Linked DNA regions of Homo sapiens: region 2 is linked to region 1. The links are contacts of gene promoters, found by promoter capture Hi-C in human tissues and cell types (Jung and others, 2019). All regions are on one chromosome and are shown on one strand. The core of a region is centred on a gene start or on the middle of the fragment in contact, and the rest is flanking DNA. Distances in the headings are between cores, read along the strand shown.

What was found. Contacts are between HindIII fragments. The study calls those that stand out against the background at their distance.
Region 2: the fragment with the promoter of SCNN1A here is called in contact with the fragment with the promoter of COPS7A in region 1 in 1 of the 25 tissues and cell types used here (hippocampus).

The regions. Positions count from the first base shown.
Region 1 is chr12:6,720,609-6,727,250 of GRCh38, forward strand. It overlaps COPS7A (COP9 signalosome subunit 7A), which reads left to right and starts at 3,438. Exons shown (of 8, transcript NM_001164094.2): 1 at 3,438-3,571; 2 at 4,006-4,210. The coding sequence starts at 4,049. RefSeq lists enhancers at 3,363-3,572, 3,603-3,742, 3,873-4,092. The HindIII fragment of the contact is 8,117 bases long and covers 1-4,951 here.
Region 2 is chr12:6,372,460-6,379,101 of GRCh38, forward strand. It overlaps SCNN1A (sodium channel epithelial 1 subunit alpha), which reads right to left and starts at 3,104. Exons shown (of 13, transcript NM_001038.6): 1 at 3,046-3,104; 2 at 1,909-2,378. The coding sequence starts at 2,324. It overlaps LOC105369626 (a long non-coding RNA gene), which reads left to right. Exons shown (of 4, transcript XR_931591.3): 4 at 696-1,116. It also overlaps a transcript of LTBR not described here. RefSeq lists enhancers at 1,511-2,115, 3,932-4,536. The HindIII fragment of the contact is 22,523 bases long and covers 1-6,642 here.

The DNA.
Region 1 (6,642 bases), core at 2,188-4,687:
CCAGGACTTTGCTTATATTTACTTAGTTCCCATCCTCTTCTTGGGACACCTTTATTTTTCTTCCCACTTTCTCCTCTTCTTTTCCCATTTCTACTCCTTTTTCTTATCTTTCTCACATTTCCTCCTGCTCCTCCTCTTCTCTCTCTAATCCTACTTCTTTAGTCCATTTCCTCTCCTGTCTTTCTCCAAACTCTCTTTTATCTCCTTACTCATTGTTCTCTCATATTCTCCTCTCACTCCTTTTTCTCCTATAGAACCATAAGACATCAGAACCCAAATTGGCCTTAACATCTAATCTCTCTTGGCGGATATGGAAGAGGAGATACCACAAAATGGCTTGATTTGCTTTAAGGTCACAGCTGGTTTAAGACCAAATCAGGAGTAAATCTCAGGTTATCTCTTTCTTTGTGCTCTCTTCTCTGTCGCTCTTTCCTTTCTGCTTTTTTCCTGCTTCTCTTTCTTTTTTTAAATGTTATTTATTTATTTATTTTTGAGACAGAATCTTGCTCTGTCACCCAGGCTGGAGTGCAATGGCACAATCTTGGCTCACTGCAACCTCTGCCTCCTGGATTCAAGAGATACTCCTGTTTCAGCCTTCCGAGGAGCTGGGATTACAGGCATGCGCCACCACACCCGGCTAATTTTTGTATTTTTGGTAGAGATGAGATTTTATCATGTTGGCCAGGCTGGTCTCAAACTCCTGATCTCAAGACCTCAAGTGAGCCACCTGCCTTGACCTCCCAAAGTGCTGGGATTACAAGCATGAGCCACTCTGTCTGGCTCATTTCTTTCTTTCTTTCTTTTTTTTTTTTTTTTTTTGAGACGGAGTCTTGCTCCGTTGCCCAGGCGGAAGTGCAGAGACAGGATCTTGGCTCACTGCAACCTCTGTCCCCTTCTCCTTCCTCAGGGTTCAAGCAATTCTCCTGCCTTAGCCTCCTGAGTAGCTCGGATTACAGGGGTCTGCCACCACGCTCTGCTAATTATTATTTTTTTAGTAGAGATGAGGTTTCACCATGTCGGCCAGTCTGGTCTCGAACTCCTGGCCTCAAGCGATCCGCCTACCTTAGCCTCCCAAAGTGCTGGGATTACAGTCCTGAGCCACCACGCCCAGCTCGCTTATCTTTCTCAATACAGTGTTGGAATCAGACAAACTTGCATTTAGATCTCAGTTTCATCACAGACCGGTAACCTTCAACAAACTATTTAACTTCTGTATTCCTAAGTGTCCTCACAGGTGAATTGAGACACTAATATGCACCTCATAGGGTTGCAAAGATCGAATAAAAATTTGAACAATCGGCCGGGTGCGGCGGCTCGCGCCTGTAATCCCAGCACTTTGGGAGACAGAGGCCGGTGGATCACGAGATCAGGAGATCGAGACCATCCTGGCTAGCATGGTGAAACCACAGCTCTACTAAAAATACAAAAATTAGCCGGGCATGGTGGCGCGTCCCTGTAATCCCAGCTACTTGGGAGGCTGAGGCAGGAGAACCGCTTGAACCTGGGAGGTGGAGGTTGCAATGAGCCGAGATTGTGCCGCTGCACTCCAGCCTGGGCCATAGAGCAAGACTGTCTCAAAAAAAAATAAATAAGATAAAAATTTGAACAATCGAGGCTGCAGTGAGCTGTGATCGCATCACTGCACGCCACCCTGGGCAACAGAGTGAAACCATGCCTCTAAAAAAAAAAAAAAAAAAAAAAAAAAAAAAGTAAAAAATGAACAAATAAAGCACTTGGCGCAAAATAGAACAAATACGGGTTATTTTCTCATCCCTTCATCTTACATGTTTTTCCCTTCTCTCTAAAAATGATAAGCTTGGCCGGGCGCAGTGGTTTACGCCTGTAATCCCAGCACTTTGGGAGTCTGAGGCGGGCGGATCACGAGGTCAGGAGATCGAGACCATCCTGGCTAACACGGTGAAACCCCGTCTCTACTAAAAATACAAAAATTAGCCGGGCGTAGTGGCGGGCGCCTGTAGTCCCAGCTATTCGGGAGGCTGAGGCCAGAGAATGGCGTGAACCCGGGAGGCGAAGCTTGCAGTGAGCCGAGATCGCGCCACTGCACTCCAGCCTGGGCGACAGAGCGAGACTCCGTCTCAAATTAAAAAAAAAAAAAAAAGATAAGCTTGGGGCGGGGAGGGGTGGATGCAAAATAATAATAATAATGTTTGGACTCATTAATTCCTTGCTTCCTTCAAACTCTGAATATTTTATTATGCCTTTGATTCCTTCTACTCACTTTTGTTTCACCTTTTCCATTCATTTCTTCTTCTCCTCTTCCTCCTTTCTCTTTCCTTTCTGTGTTTCTGCTTATTTTCTATCACAAACCAAAATATGCGGACCATAAACTGCATCTGCAGTTCCTTTAGCCCTAACAGACTACGAGTCCTATTTCTCTTTATCTTTCTCTTTTTCACTTTCTTGTCTTTCCATTACTTACAAGTTTCTTAATTTTCCTGAGTTCAGTTTTTCCATCTGGAAAGTGGAGATAACAATTACTAGATCGTTGTATCAGATGAATTAAGTAATGCTCATGGCTTAACACAAAGGCCAAGATGTCATTAACTTTACCCTCACTTGACCTTCTGCAAGCCTGTTGTGAAATATAAAACACTATAGAAATGTTAGTTGTTTTTGTTTTTATTAAAGTATCATATTGAAGTAGAAAGATGGTTTTGAGTTTGAAAAGCTCCAGATAAATCCTTGGATTTTTATGAGCCTCAATTTCCTTTTCTGTAAAATGAGAACCACATAGGGTTTTTTCCTCCCCAAGAAATTAAGAGTCCATGTACTGAAAGCATCATTCTACAAGTATTAATACATATGTAGTAATCATGGTAGAGGGTGTCCTGAAGTCACAGGGGAATATTTGTGAGGATTCAACGGAATAAAATTTTAAAAGATGTCTGACCAATAGTAAGCACTCAATACATGTTAGCTTTATTCTCTCTTTTATTTTTCTCGCTTCTTTTCTCCTGCTCTTCAAAAAAGTGAGTGGTTGAACCACCTAGGTGATCTCTGCTGCTAAACTTCTATTATTGATTTTTGTTTGCTTCCTCTCTGCCCCTTGTTTCCTCATCCCGTTTTTTTCCCTCTTCTTCACTCCTTCCGTTACAGCTTTTCTCTTGCCTCAGGTACCCAGTGCAGTCCTGATCTCCAGCTCTCCAGCGGCTTAGAACAGACACAGAATGGGCCGGGACCAGGGACCCACCAGAGACGTCTGTAGTTAATAGCTGGCGCTCTTCCACTAATAAAGTTTTATTGAAATAAAGCATTTAAAAAGGCGCCCGTCATTCTTCCCCCAGCGACCAATCGAAGAGTAGAATGCCTGCGTCCCTCACTGGAGCTTCAGCGGTCGGAACGCGGGGGTGGGGCATGTCCTGCCGAAATTTGCGTCCTTAGAGCGGAAGTACGGCCGGAAGCCCGCCATAGAGTTTAGTGGCCAGAGCGACTCTTCAGGGAGGTGGCAGGAAAGGCTTGGAACAGCTGCCGGAGGTGACGGAGCGGCGGCCCCGCCCGGTGCGCTGGAGGTCGAAGCTTCCAGGTAGCGGCCCGCAGAGCCTGACCCAGGGTACGACGAAGCAGTCGGCGGGAGCCCACGGTCGCTGGGCGGTGTCTTTAAGGGAGGGGGCGGAGCCACGTGTAAGCTTCAATGGGGGTGAGGTCACGTGGTTGTGGGCGCGTGCGGGGCAGCAATGGAGAGCTGAGGGAGCGTCGTCAGGGTGGACACCATGCGACACCCATTTCTCCTTTGCATCCTGTGTCTTGGGGTTCAATGGGGTGCACGTGATGGGGCTTGGGGTTAGGCCCAGGGGAGGGGGTGGGTGTGGCAGCCTTGCGAAGTGGCTGACTTTAGGATTCCTAGATCAGAATTTTAGACCGCTCCATGTCTGATTCCTCACCGCAGAACCGACTTAGTGCCTTTACAATCCAGTCCCTCAGCCTTGTGCTTCCCATCCGACCAGCCATCGGGGACCTCTAGCTTCACATCCTCTTTCCTTGCAGCTCTGGACATCCTGAGCCCAAGTCCCCCACACTCAGTGCAGTGATGAGTGCGGAAGTGAAGGTGACAGGGCAGAACCAGGAGCAATTTCTGCTCCTAGCCAAGTCGGCCAAGGGGGCAGCGCTGGCCACACTCATCCATCAGGTGCTGGAGGCCCCTGGTGTCTACGTGTTTGGAGAACTGCTGGACATGCCCAATGTTAGAGAGGTGGGTTGCTGGCTTGAATAGCCCTCAGAGAAGCGTGGGCAAAGGTTTGAATTTGAGAATGGGTGGGCAGGGCTCATTTTGTGATCCAATAACCATTCAGTTGAACAAGAAAACAGTGATAATTAAATGCCAACTTGCAGAAGTAACCAGTGAACAAGCAAACCAGCTCTCCTTTGGAGATAAGGGATCTGTAAAGCCCACTATTTTTCATTTTAAGCAAAAGAGCATCCTATTCAGAATAGGAAACCTGATTTCCAGCCGGTCTCCACCAGTGTAGTAGCTGTTAATTCTCATGTCACCTTGATCAGGTCACTTTTGTTTTAGGGCTTCAGCTTTCTCTTTTTTTTTTTTTTTTTGAGACGGAGTCTTGCTCTGTCACCCAGGCTGGAGTGCAGTGGCGTGATCTCAGCTGAGTGCAAGCTCTGCCTCCTGGGTTCACGCCATTCTCCTGCCTCAGCCTCCTCAGTAGCTGGGACTACAGGCGCCCGCCACCATGCCCGGCTAACTTTTTTGTATTTTTAGTAGAGATGGGATTTCACTGTGTTAGCCAGGATGATCTCGATCTCCTGACCTCGTGATCCGCCCGCCTTGACCTCCCAAGGTGCTGGGATTACAGGCTTGAGCCACCGCACCTAGCCAACTTTCTCTTTTAAAAATGGAGACAATACTGCCCCTCTCTGTTGTGGGAATAAAGTGAGATTATGGGAAAGTGTGAAGTCTGGTACAAGTGGAGAGTGAACATGTTAAATTAGCATGCCCTTTTCTTCCCTATGTGCAGCATATGCTAATCTATTCAAGTTAGCTAAGGGAGAACGTGTCTTTTTCCCAGAGACACATGGCAAACTGCTAGGAACACAGCAGAGAGAACCGTTCACACAAAAGTGGCAGAGTTAATTTACAATCAGAGGAGGCAGCCTGAGTCCTGACATGCTGACAGTGGTATGTGGGTAAACTGAGCTAAGTTATTTGGGGCCTGTGGTTTAACCTTTTGGATCACTCTGTGATATGGAGAAAACTGGCTGACTTTTCCCTGCTTTCATCTGCAGTGGAACTAAAGAGTATCAATCAAAGTGATGAAAAAGAAGCACTTGGCTGGGTGCGGTGGCTCATGCCTGTAATCCCAGCACTTTGGAAGGCCAAGGCAGGTGGATCACCTGAGGGCAGGAGGTGAAACCGATATGGCAGAATCCTGTCTCTGTTAAAAATACAAACAGGGCTGGGCACGGTGGCTCATGCCTGTAATCCCAGCACTTTGGGAGGCTGAGGTGGGCGGATCATGAGGTCAGGAGATGGAGACCATCCTGGCTAACATGGTGAAACCCCGTCTCTACTAAAAATACAAAAAATTAGCCGGGTGTGGTGGCGGGCGCCTGTAGTCCCAGCTGCTTGGAAGGGTGAGGCTGAGGTTGCAGTGAGTTGAGTTCGAGCCACTGCATTCCAGTCTGGGCGACAGAGCGAGACTCCATCTCAAAAAACAAGACAAAAACGAAAAACAGGGCCAGTCATGGTGGCTCATGCCTCTCATGCCTGTTCTCAGCACTTTGGGAGGCCGAGGTGGGTGGATCATGAGGTCAGGAGTTCAAGACCAGCCTGGCCAAGATGGCAAAACCCCGTCTCTGCTAAAAATACAAAAATTAGCCGGGCGCGGTGGCAGGCGCCTGTAATCCCAGCTACTCGGGAGGCTGAGGCAGGAGAATCACTTGAACCTGGGAGGCAGGAGGTTGCAGTGAGCCGAGATTGCACCACTGCATTCCAGCCTGGGCAACAGAGTGAGACTCTGTCTCAAAAAAAAAAATAAATAAATAAATAAAACAAACAAAAGCTCATGTATCCCAGAACTTAAAGTATAATTTAAAAAAAAAAAAAAGGGAGGCGGAGGTTGCAGTGAGCCGAGGTCGCGCCACTGCACTCCAGCCTGGGTGACAGTGTGAGACACCATCTCAAAGAAAAAGAAAAAGAAGCACTTATTAAGTGGCTCTTTACTACCCTTCTTATGGTCTGGGAATACAAGAAAAGCACCAGGCATGGAGCTTACCCTTCTGAAGCTTGCATTCCAGTTGAAGAGAGAAGATGAATGGATAGAAATCTGAATTATTTATTTATTTAGCAAGTATTTCTTGCGAGGCAATTACTGCATAGCTCTGTGGGATACCTGAGACTGGGTCTATAATCTTGTTGAAAGATATTCTTAGGTAGCAACCTTCTGCAAGGATTGATTGATTAAGTGCCAGAATGAAGCTGAGCACAGTGGCTCACGCCTATAATCCCAGCACTTTGGGAGGCCAAGGCAGGTGGATCACCTGAGGTCAGGAGTTCGAGACCAGCCTGGCCAATGTGGCGAAACCCTGTTTCTACTAAAAATACAAAAATTAGCCTGGTGTGGTGGTGCACGCCTGTAATCCCACCTGCTTGGGAGGCTGAGGCAGGAGAAT
Region 2 (6,642 bases), core at 1,854-4,353, 350 kb before region 1:
AGGGATTCTTTCTGGGCAGATGGCTGCCTCCCAGCCTGCAGGCCCCAGAGGCAGGGCTTATGGCTTCCTTTCCCCGGCTTTTTCCTGGACTGTCTAGGGCCCCGCATCCAGCAGAACCTAAGAACTGTGCAGGCCTCACCCGATTCACCCCTGCCCTCCCTTTCCATCTCTCACTGACATATTTTCAACCACAAATATTTATTGAGTGCCCACTGCCCCGCCTGCTGTCCTTCCCCTTCCTGCTGGGTCCCTCCCCTCCACCAAGGCCTAAAGGGGTGAAGATGTCTGCAGGCAGCAGGGGGAGAAAAATGAGGCTAAGAGGAAGGACCCAAGAGAGCTCTGAAATGAGGCGGAAGCCACATCTGACTGGAAGTTTCATTCACTCAAAGCCCCACATCTTGGGTATTAAAAAGAGGCAGAGTTTTGGGATTAGGCGTAAACAGGATGAGTCACAGCTCAGTCACTCTCTCTGTGATGTTGTGACTTGCCTCTCTTTGCCTTAGTTTCCTCAAGTGTAAAATAGGGATAACAATAGCACCGGGCTTGTAAGATGTGAGAATGAAATGAGATACCCAAGACACCTTCGCAGCGTCTGTGCACACGGCAGCTTCCTAAGGAAATGGTCCCTACCTGGGACATTATACAGACGTTAATCAACGAAATGACCTGGCTTTTTTTTTTCTCTCTCTCTCCAGGACAGGACGTCCCACCCTTTCTTAGTCCGTAACGCACCTTTGGACATGATGGAATATACGAAGGGGCCTCCACCCACAGCATGACCAATCCCCAGCATCCAAAATCGCACACATACCAATATGTGCACACACACACTCACACCCACACCCATAAAGATTTTGCACTCCTTGAAGGTACACTAACTCACCATTTTTATCATACTTATCCCAGTGTGCCACAGTTACTGGCTTATATGCCTGTCTCTGCTATCTTATTTTATCTGTCTCCACAACACAGCAAACTACCTGGCCTTCAATAAAGGGCTTATGAATTATTCATGAATCCATTTTGCCAGGTGCCTAGCCCTGTGTCTGGCTTGAAGCAGGTGTTCCCAAGGTGTGGCATGGCTGAGTGAATACAAATAAAAGGTATACAAAAGCACTCAGCCCTGCCCTCCTCTCTTCTCCACGCTTACCACCTGCTCCGGTTTCCAGACCCAACATTGGCAAAGAGCACCGATGAAACCCAAAAGTTCAGGACACACCCAAGCACGTAAAGGTCAGGCACCTGGGCAGGTCAACAGTGCAGCATTTTAGCCTGGGTCTTTTGGGGGAAGAGCTTCACAAGGAGCTGCTCTCTAGCCTGACCCATTCTCCTTGTTCTGTAAGGCCCCTGCCCCCAGCCTTTGGGCTCACTTGCAGCCCTAACCTCCACGATCCCCCTCTTTGCTTTCTCCATAATAAATTCCCCTTCTAAACAAAGACTGACAGCACCACCTCCACAGCACCTGCACGGTCTCGCCTCCCCTCACCTAGCCTCACCCCTCCATCAGACTCTCCTGCTGAGGTGGACGAGGTCTTATACTTTGCTGGCATCTTGCTCCAGAAAAGGGATGCAGCTGAGCACACCCCTGCCCTTTTGCAAGCACTCCCTCCCACTTGCAGGAGGGAGAAGGGAATGGGAGGGAAGGAGAAGAGAGGGCAGGGGAGGGCAATGCTGCTCCAACAACCACACTCTGGGTGAGCCTGGGGTGCTAGGATGGCTCCACTGGGCAGGGACGCCAGTCCAGTAAGCTGGAGGCTCCTCATTTTGCCAGCAGTGAGCTCTACCTGGGACAGGGGTGTCAGTTCCCACCCTCAGGTCTGAGGCTCTGCCTGCCCAGTGAGCACCTCAGCACCCTGGACCACCCTTCCAGGCGCAGGCACCAGGGAAGGGGCAGAGGGACTAACCGACCTGTAGGGATTGAGGGTGCAGATGGTCACTGCGGGGAAGACGAGCTTGTCCGAGTTGAGGTTGATGTTGAGGCTGACGGGGTAGCTGAAGTACTCTCCGAAAAGCAGGCCGAATTGCCAGTACATCATGCCAAAGGTGCAGAGCCACAGCACTGCCCAGAAGGCCGTCTTCATGCGGTTGTGCTGGGAGCACACCAGGCGGATGGCGCCGTGGATGGTGGTGTTGTTGCAGAAGAACTCGAAGAGCTCTCGGTAGGAGCGGTGGAACTCGATCAGGGCCTCCTCCTCCGCCGTGGGCTGCTGGGGCGCCGCAGGTTCGGGGCCCAGCCCCTGCTCCTCACGCTTGTTCCCCTTCATGAGCCCTGGAGTGGACTGTGGAGGGCTAGAGTCCTGCTCCTCCAGCTTGTTCCCCTCCATGAGACCTGGTATGGGCTGCAGAGGTCTAGGGTCCTGCTCCTCCAGCTTGTTCCCCTTCATGAGCCCCGGAGTGGATTGGGGAGAGCAAGGGTCAGGGTCAAGGCTGAGCTCTGGGCCCTGAGTGCCCTCTCCCATCACCCCTGGAACCCGAGTGAGGCTGCCCCTGGCCATGCCCATGTCCCACCCTGCGCCCACATTCTCCCACTCCTCCCTCCCTCCTCCACCTTTCCTGGAGCCAGCAGACCTGCGGGAGTTGGGGCCAAAAGTGCCGGAGCTGGGCTTCCCTAGAACGGCCTCTCCTCTGCTTCCCTGATAGGGCCACCTTTCGAGTTTTGTCCTAGCACCTCCCTTTCTGTCTCTGCCCCCTTCCTTTGGTCTTCTTCCTCCAGGATCTGTGTCTCAGCTCCTGCCTCTCACTCCCTCTCTATCTGCCTTCTGTTTCTCTTTGGGTCTCTCCTGCTCTCCTCTTTCTGGCCTGCCTCCTCTCTCTAATCCTGCCTCTCTTCCTCTCCCCCCCTTGCCTTGCCCCCTCTCACTCTAGGCCCTCAGCTCCAGCCTCTGGCCCTGACCTCGAGCTGTGTCCTGATTCTGTCTCTGCCCCAGGACTGCAGGGCTCCAGGAGGTCTGGGCTGCCTCCAGCTTCCCACTCCCAGGTTGCGGCTGGACTGGGACTGGTTCCTTTCCAGTTGAATCTGGCAGCCAAACCTCTCCTCCCCCTCACCTGACAGGTGCAGCGGCCTGGCTGGGGAGCCCGCCCGCTGGCCGGCCAGGGATGGAAGCGACAGGAATCTCATTAGCATCTCAATTAAAGGTGAGCAGGGCGGGGGGAGGGGCTGAGGAGGAGTCAGAGCCGGGAGTTTTCCGAAGGAAGGAGGGCTCCCGAGGGCAGGTGAACTGGGAGTACTGGACCTGAGAAGGCGGACTCTGGGCAGGGGCTTTAGACGCAGACAGGCAAGGAGGCTGGGGGACAGGATGGCAGGTGAGGGGCAAAGATCTGAACAAGTAGAAGGATCCTGAGCCCACAGCTAGGAGGGCAACACAAGGAGAAGGGGCCAGCCAGGCTGAGAGGGCCTGGGTGGGGAACCGGGAGGACAGGAGGGCAGAAAGAGGGAGACAATAGAGAGGGACAGCGAAGGACAGAGAGATAGGGATGGAGGAGGGGCACTGAGTGAGTAGAGGCAGGTGGGGGGCAGTGGTGGGGGCAAATAGAAGGAGCCAGCACCAAAGGGAGTCTGTCTCCAGGAAGGAGAGCAAGGGGGGAGTCCCAAGTGTGCTTCCAGGAGCTAGAGGCTCAGCAAGTGGGCAGCCCTCCAAGGGCACCCACAGGTCAGCCTCACCCTCAGGCCCTGCAGAGAAGAGAGAAGAGGTCTCTGCAGGTCTCCTCCCCGCTCACTAAGTGGGAGCAGCGCACTCAGGTGGGATGCGTCTGCCTCCTCCTGGTCCCTCCTCTTTCCTGCTGATTCCTCGCCACCCCCTCCAACCTTGTCCAGACCCGGGAGGGGCCCAGGTGAAGCTGGGGGCTAGGCGGGGCCCTAGGACATTCTGTTCTTTTTTACACTGTTGGCTGCCAGGCCAGGAATGTGTAATCGCCCCTGCTGTGGTCACAGAGTTGCAGGAATGTGGGCAACCAGAGGCAGCGCGAGGGCCACGCAGGACACTGTGGACACAGACCCGGAGCCCAGGAAGAGGCAGGGAAAGCAGGCACTGAAGGTGCAGGGAGGATGTGGCCAGCGCTGGAAAGGAAGAGGGTGGGCATGGCACACGCCTAGACAGGCCCTGGGAGGAGGAGAAATTCGTTGATGGGCTATATTTTCTCCAAAATCTCTTTCCAAACTTAATGCAGCAAAAGGATAAGGAGTGGAGTGCCAAGTGGTGAGCAAGGAGAGAGAGGAGGGTCAGAGAATCAGACCCAAAAAGGGCTGGAGGAGACTCGGGAGAGCCACCCACACAACCCAGGCCCTGCACGCGGCAGGGAAGGCTGCCGCTTCCTCACGGGCCCCACAGGAGGCAGCCCAGAGTGCAGGAATGTGGTCACTGGCTTGTCCTGCCTCCCTCCACAAGCCAGCAGACAAAGGCCCAGCCTGAGCATTGATACACACCGGGGGAGGAGATAGGCCTGCAATACAATAAGATAAGGTTTCTATTTGTACACTTTAAAAGATTGTCTTTAAAACGGACTTCTAACAAAAGTGCAGATCTCAGATTTCTCAGAGATAAGACATAAGAGCCAAGGGCTAGGGGAGCCTAGGGGCTCACTGCAGGAGACTCAGGAAGCCTTCCCAGAGAAGGTGTCATCTCTGCTGAATCTTGACAAGCAAGGAGTTTAGCAGGCAAAGAAGAGAAAAGGCAGTACTCCAGGCTCAGGGTCCAACCTGGTCTGTGGCTTCCTCTCTTGCGGCAGTCTCTTGCGACTTCTTAAAGTGAAAGCCGGTGTCAACCAGGATTCCAAACCAGGTTCCCTTGCTTACCTTGATACTGCTCATGATACCTCCCCTTGGAAGGGACAGCTGGATTTTTCTTCATTGTCCTAATGAAGAAACTGACCCTTCCCAAGGATAAATCAGTTTTCTGAGGTTAGAAAACAAAATAGGAGCAGAGCTATAAACAGAATTCAGAATTCTCCTCCTCCTCTGGGGCTATCTACTTAGCGCTTTTGCCATTTACTTCCTGAGACAGACTCATGGGGGATCGGGGCTCAGGTGCACCTGGATGTGAAAGCCGGGAAGGCCTCCCTCACTCCCACACAGAGCCCGTGGATTCGTCTGCTCTCTGGGTGCTGGGTTATCTCCTTGGCTCTGTGAAAAGGTCTCTGCACTGTCCCCACTGCCCCACATATCCCAGAGACCCCTAGAAACTCCAGTCTCCCTTGAGCCAGGTCCTTACATTGGGCATGGTCCTCCCTGCAATAAGGTGCTCAGCACCCTGGCTGTTTGATCTCAAAGGTTCTGAAAAGCACCTCCCTGCCTTTTCTATTTGCCAGCTCATGCCTGAAATCCAACCACTAGCTTAAGGCAGCATGGCAAATAGTTTTCATATCAAGGGCTCTGTGAGAAGAATTGCAATGCCTGGTCTGGGCTGAGCCAAAGGGTGGTGACCCTGCCACGTCCTGCCGGGTATGGGAGTGGCAATGCGAGCCTAGTGCTGCAGCATTCTAGACCTGGAGCGGGCTAGAACAGGCTTGGTGTTGTGAGGAAAATAGAAATCTGAGACCTGGACTTTGGTCAGAAGTCCATTTTAAAGATGATCTTTTAAAGTGTACAAATAATACACAAATATGTTTTTGTCACAGTACAATTTTTCAGCAATACAGAAGTATATAGAGCTTCCCTTAGTCCCCTTCCTTTCCCTCCCCAAAGGGGAGCCACCATAATTTGTATATCTGTCTATATCTTTTTGTGTGCCTTTATAAACTTACATGTATTTTTAAAAAACAAAATATATAGTTCTTTTTTATGACAGAGACCATGCTATAGGTATGTTTCTACAACTTCCATTTTTGCTTTTATTTTCTTATTTATCTTAGAGACAGGATCATGCACTATCCTCTAGGCTGGAGTACAGCAGCATGATCATGGCTCACTGCAGCCTCCAACTCCTAGGCTCAAGCAGTCCTCCTGCCTCAGCCTCCCAAAGTGCTGGGATTACAAGTGTGAGCCACCATACTCAGCCCCTATTTTTGCTTTTAAACTATGTGACTTTGAGAAAGGCACTTGACCTCTATGGGCCCCGGTGATCTTACCTGAGAAAATGAAAGGGCAAGAAGGGGTGGGTAAGGCAACCCAGATGGACAAAGACTTTTTCCAGCTGACCTTGCATCTAGCCCCCTGCTTCATGCATGAGGGGACTGAGGCCCACAGAAGCAAAGTGACTTGGCCACAGTCACCCAGGAGTTAGGGGTGGGGTCAGACTGAAAACCAGGCCACTCCTTTCCAAGCCCAGTTCTCCTTCTCTGACTTTGAGAGAAGTACAGTTTTGTTCTATAAGAAGTCAAGAGCTTTGTAGACTCTGTCTTGGAAGGACCCCCTGCCTTCCCAGGACTACCCCCAGACTCCCCCAGAGCCCCAGCCCTTCCCGCCAACCCAGGGCTGCCTTCCCCTCCCAACACCAGCTATCCTCTAACCCTGTGGTGTGGCCATAAAATATGCACGGCTGCAGGGAGAGAAGTGAAACCAGAGGGGCTGCCATGGGATGAGGGTTATGAGTGCAAAGGGTCTTCCTGCCTCTTGTTCTCCGCGGACAGGAGATGACGGAAGTAATCACTCCACCCTCCTAGGGAGAGCCTATCTCTGCACTTACCACTGTTTACTATTATTTATTA